Regions from separate parts of the Homo sapiens genome. Here region 1 is linked to region 2. Evidence: promoter capture Hi-C in 16 types of primary human blood cells and fetal thymus (Javierre and others, 2016). All regions are on one chromosome and are shown on one strand. Each heading gives the region's core, a stretch centred on a gene start or on the middle of the fragment in contact. The rest is flanking DNA. Distances are from core to core; before and after follow the strand shown. Region 1 holds the start of CIMIP3 (ciliary microtubule inner protein 3). Region 2 holds the start of FRS3 (fibroblast growth factor receptor substrate 3).

Region 1 (2,700 bases), core at 133-2,632, 380 kb after region 2:
AACACCCCAATTTCCAGTCTGCCTTCGGCCCCAAAGTGCATCTTGTCAGCGTTGACTCAGGGCCAGGAAGAAAACAAATAATTCCGGGCCCAGCCCAAGCTGGTGTGGCAGGAAGGCACCCAATAGCTCTATCTACCTCCCGCTGGAACTCTCTCCTTCCCCTCAACCAAGGGAGAAGCCCATGTCATTCCTACATGTGGGATTTCTGACATTACTCCTGGAAGCTGCCTACCAAGTGTGGTATTGGGGAGACAGGACCCTAGGGAGGTAGGGGAGCTGATTTTTGAAGATGGGGACAGGACAGCCCATTCAACCACCCACCCATCAATCCAATTACCCACCCACACATAGTCATAGCTGATGTTTACTCAATGCTTACTCTGTACCAGGCACTGTCCTAAGTGCTTTGCCCAACTCTATTAGGTAGGGACTTTACCCATTTTACAGATGAGAAAACAGAAGCATAGAGATGTCAATTAATTTTCCCAAAGTTACACACTAGTAAAGTAGTACAGCCAGAATTCAAGCTCAGGCATTCTAACTCCCAGACCTGCAATCCTCTATACCACAGCCATCACCATCTGTCCATTTACTGACCATCCATCCATCCACTCACACATGGTCACTCCTATTCAGCCATCTGTCTATCCACCTGTTCATCCATCCCTTTATCTCCCAACCCTCTGTTCAAAGCAATCCATGAGAAGGAATGGCATATGTAGAGGCTCAGAGGGGAGAGAGTGGGGCATGTCTAAGAAACTAGCTACTCCATAGAGAGCAAGGGAAAGATAGCAAGAGATGAGGCTAAGGAGATGAGCAGGGCTCAAATCACAAGGGTTGGCCCATCCACCATCTATCTGCCAACCCAGTCCATCCACCTGTCCATCCACCCTCCCACTCATGTCCACCCATCCATTCATCCACTCATCTCTGTAATTTGGAAGGCAGATAGATGATAGATAGATGATAAATAGATGATTGACAGGTGGTAGATGATAGATGATAGATAGATAGATAAATAGATAGATAAATAAATAGATAGATTAGATAGATAGATAGAATGAAGAGTTGCCAAGGTACATTTCCTTCCTGACAGTGATATTGGGACATGGGGGGATATTAGGACTTCTGGAGGCACCTTGATAATTAGGATGATCTCTCTCCATTCACCTCCTGCCCACAGTTTTAGGGTTCTATGGGTTTGTGGGAAGAGGGAATAGCATAGTGGGCCAGTGTCAAGGTTAAAAGACCCTTCCAGGTCCTGAAACGTCAGTCCCCAGCCCTGGCCTCATGTCTCCTTGGGAAGACAGAAGGAATTGTGTTGTAAAGAGGTGTCACAATGCCCCCTGCCCCATACAAGTTCTCCCCACCTTGGCACTCTCAGTATCCTGCCAAGAGTCCTCCCTGACCACCAGAAGTTCCACCTCACCATCAAGAAAGGCCCTGGTCCAGGATGTGCAAGGTGTGATGAAATCACAGGGCTGGGGAAGGTCAGCTCGGGGTCACAAGAAGCCTGATGGGCAGGAAAGAGCATGAAAGCCCCAGCCAGCCTCACATGTGCGGCTGGGAGGTAGGTCCTCTTACAAAAGGCTTAGTTGGGTGCTGGTGCTGGTGCTGCTGCCTGCCTTGTACTCCCCAGCTGTCGGACCTCTGCGATCTCTCTGGGGAGATGGAGAGAGGGAACAGGACACCCTCCATCTTGCTTCCTCTGCCCCTTCACTGCTGTAAAGTGTGTCCTGGACTGTTTGGTTCGTGTTACACCATCTCCAAGGCAAACTTGAGATAAATAATAATTGTAGCTAAAGTTTGAGTGCTTAAGAGGTCTAGGCACCTTACATGGACTAGCTCATTAAGTCCTCACATGAACCCTATGAGGTAGAGCTCTTGTTATTCCCACATTATACTTCGGAAAATTGAGGTACAGAGATTATAATTTGCCTAAGGATCAGGCAGCTAGTGAGTGAGAGGGCTGGAATTCTATTTATTTTTTTTTTGAGACTCGCTTTGTTGCCCAGGCTGGAGTGCAGTGGCACAATCTCAGCTAAGTGCAACCTCCGCCTCCTGTGTTCAAATGATTCCCCCACCTCAGCCTCCCAAGTGGCTGGGATTACAGGCACCTGCCACCACGCCCGGCTAATTTTTTTGTATTTTTAGTAGAGACGGGGTTTCACCATGTTGACCAGGCTGGTCCCGAACTCCTGACCTCAAGTGATTCTCCTGCCTCGGCCTCCCAAAGTGCTGGGATTACAGGCGTGAGCCACTGTGCTCAGCCATTTTTTTTTCTTTTTTTTTTTTTTTTACTTTTTTATAAAATAGAGATGAGGTCTCTCAATGTTGCCCAGGCTGGTCTTGAACTTTTGAGCTCAAGCAATCCTCCCACTTCAACCTCCCGCTGAATTACAGGTGTGAGCCACCGGGCCCTGCAGGGAACTGGAATTTGAACTGGGGTAGCTGGCTCCAGGCTCTCATGCTACCCAGTCACATGAGGAAGCTGAGGCCTACCCCCGGCTTCCCTAACCACTCCCTTCAAAGCCCCTGTGCTCCCCCAAAGGGAAACGTGCTCTCCTATAGGTTCAGACAGGTATGTGTGTGAAACCACGGTGTAACTGCCCGAGAGGCTGAGAGTAATGACTATTTGCACTGTGCCTTTACCGTTCCCAGCACTCATGGCACCCCACCACAAGCTGGTGAATTAGATAG
Region 2 (2,700 bases), core at 191-2,690:
AAACACCAAAACCATCACCTTACCTTTGCAGAGAACTTTAACTCTACAAAGAGCTTTCTCAAAAGGACACTGTGATATAGTAGAGACAGCACTGGTTTAAGACTCAGGAAACCAATATATCGGTCAGTTTTGTTGCTACTAAGTATCTGGGAGACTTAAGTCAACGCCCCCCCCAACTCCCACCTAAGGCCTTAGTTTTTGGGGGAACCATCTATAAACTGGGGAGCTTCTAGCTTAAATAACTTGCAGAGGTAAAAACGTAAGACAAACTTCACTAAAATTGACATGTTCATCTTCCAAGACAGGCTGCTTCAATTTCGCATTTGGAAGCTTGATAGATTTTCTGCTCCCCAAGCTCTGAAAGGCCTAATTTTAACATAAATGTTAACAGTAAGCCAAAATTTCAGGATATCTGAGCCCAAGGTAGACAAGTCAACAAGCCAGGACTCTGCAGACCCTGGACATCCCACATTCCTGCTCTGGAGAAACACTTCCCAGGGCCCCTTGCACCCTGCATCCTTGGACAACTTCCAGGTAAAAGGACCCCATCCCCTTGGTCTGGCTTATTTTCTGGAAGGAAGAAGCAGGCTCAGGGAGGTGTGCACAGACTAAAGATAGGTTGCTGGGAAAATACTGGGGCTTGAGCCACCGACGGGGGCACGGCGCGGGCACTGAAACGAAGAACTCTAGGGTGCAAGATGGGGGAGGGGCTGAATTTCCCTATCACCATCTCTTCTCCTTAAGATATCAGGATGTATCAGATAGCCCACTGAGGAGGGACTGCATTGAGTGGAAATGGGGAGAGGCCTCTGGTCTGGGATAGGTATGGATCAGGGGCAGGAGTGAGAGGGGGGTGTGGGGGCTGAAAACGTATGAGGACGTTTGGGGAAACATGAGCAAGAATTTTGGATGTGGGCATTTTGGATAGTGCAAGGAGAATGGGGATATGAGGGATCCTAGGAATTTCCGGGCAGTGGAAGCATTTGGGGGCATCCAAGAGAAATGGTGGGTCCGTGGGCATAGCAGGAGATTTGTTGAGTGAATGAGGGGGTTCTGAGGGCTCCAGGAGATGCGATGATGTGTCCAGGGCGGAGAGGGTAGAGGTGGGTTGGGGGAGCCAGAGGCTGCAGGACAGGCTACAGGACTGTCAAGGGGAATTTCTACATGCCCGTAAGGAATGAGGAGGTCTGGGTGCGCGCTGTCCCCGGATCCCCGCCCCCAGCCCCGGTGCTCCGCCGCCTGCCCGCCCGCCCGGGGCTTCCTAGGGAGGGAGTGGAGACTGCGGCGCGGCGCGGCGCGGCGCGGCGCGGCCTCGGTGAAGCCGCCTCGTCCCCGCCCCGCCGCGCCCCGACTCACATCGCCCCGCGGCCCGGGCGGCGCCGGGCCCCGCTCCCGGGTCCCGCTGCAGCAGCCGCCGCCCGCCCGGAGCTAAGGCCTCCCCGCCCCGCCCCGCCCCGCGGCCGCGGGGTCGGAGGTCACCGGCAGCACCAACGAGACGCTGCGGGCTGGCGGACCCGAGCGGGGGCGACCGGCACGCAGCCTAGAAGGTCCCTTTGGAGGACTTTGCAGTCGGGAGCAGTGAGCATGCGCAGACGCCAGAGGGCGCTCCTGGCCAGGGGCTGAGCAAGCCCGGAGGGGACAGGGCGGAGCCTGCGGCGGAGGCGGGGCGCGGAGGCGGGGCTGAGGACACCAAAGTTGGGGGTGGTCCGGGGAGCGGAAAGGGGACGGAGGGTTGGGCGAGAAACGAAGGGAAGGGGAGAGGGTCTGAAGGGACCTGAAAGGAGAAGGGCAAGACGATGGAACCTGGAAGAGGGTTGAGGGGAGGGGAAGGGGCCAGGGGGACCACTGGGGACAAGGGGGAGAGAACTGAAGGGAAACACGCGGAGGAGCGGGGCTGGGAGACCACAGGGAGAGTTTGGGGAGACCTGGGAACTGCGGAGAGACAGGGCTGCGGGCCCGGCGAGGCGTTTCCATTCAGCGAATGGTTGAAAACCCAGCGTAAACGCGGCTCCCGGCGTCTGCTGGATGCCTGCCGGGCGCAGTCCGAGCCAGAGAGCCCTTGCACCTGCATGGCAGAGGCCATGGAGCCCGCACATTTCCACCCTGAGATCCCATAAATGTGGTTTTGTTTTCCTTTTTTTTTTCCTCCCCCCAATCTGCAGCTCCAGGCCCCTCCCTGAGCCGCCCCTCTCCACCAGCCGGGGAGGGGCGGGCGGGGGCCGCTGGGGCGTGGGAGAGGAAGGGCCGCGCTATTAGGGCGGGCGGGGGCGGACGGGGGCGGGCGCTGAAGCCTTGGGGTGGGGACCGGGTGAGGGGCCTGACGGCAGAGTCGGTCCAGAACTGCCCGGACAGCGACGCACAGCGAGGGTGAGACCCCAGCGGAGTCCTGGTCCCCTCCCCTAAAATCCCAGCAGCCAGACCGGGAACCCCAGCGGACTCGGGAAACACCGCGTCCCAGCCCCGGAGGCGGGCCCGCCAAGTTCCAGAAAAACTCTGGGGATCTATCGAGAGGGCAGTTGGCGGGACTGGGCACTCCCCTTCCTTCTCCCTCCCACTGTCCCCAGAAATCTTCCCATCCCTCCACCTCCCCAAGCCCTAAGTCCTCTCGGGCTCTGCCCTTCAGGGCAGCGGGTGTTGGGGATGTCCAGCTCCTGAGCCCTCTTGCACGGAGGCTCTGCACGGAGGCAAGACAAGGGGTTC

The links. Contacts are between HindIII fragments. The CHiCAGO score rates a contact against its expected background, and 5 or more counts as called.
Region 1: the fragment with the promoter of CIMIP3 here is called in contact with the fragment with the promoter of FRS3 in region 2 in 6 of 17 cell types (naive CD4 T cells, total CD8 T cells, naive CD8 T cells and 3 more); the score reaches 8.8 in naive CD4 T cells.

Annotation. Positions count from the first base shown.
Region 1 is chr6:42,154,024-42,156,723 of GRCh38, forward strand. It overlaps CIMIP3 (ciliary microtubule inner protein 3), which reads left to right and starts at 1,383. Exons shown (of 2, transcript NM_001384994.1): 1 at 1,383-1,462. The coding sequence starts at 1,454. It overlaps GUCA1ANB-GUCA1A (GUCA1ANB-GUCA1A readthrough), which reads left to right and starts at 1,383. Exons shown (of 5, transcript NM_001319062.2): 1 at 1,383-1,570. The HindIII fragment of the contact is 11,083 bases long and covers 1-2,700 here.
Region 2 is chr6:41,778,460-41,781,159 of GRCh38, forward strand. FRS3 (fibroblast growth factor receptor substrate 3) reads right to left here and starts at 1,441. Exons shown (of 7, transcript NM_006653.5): 1 at 1,357-1,441. PRICKLE4 (prickle planar cell polarity protein 4) reads left to right here and starts at 2,323. Exons shown (of 8, transcript NM_013397.6): 1 at 2,323-2,367. RefSeq lists silencers at 1,167-1,316, 1,347-1,756, 2,037-2,106. The HindIII fragment of the contact is 6,259 bases long and covers 329-2,700 here.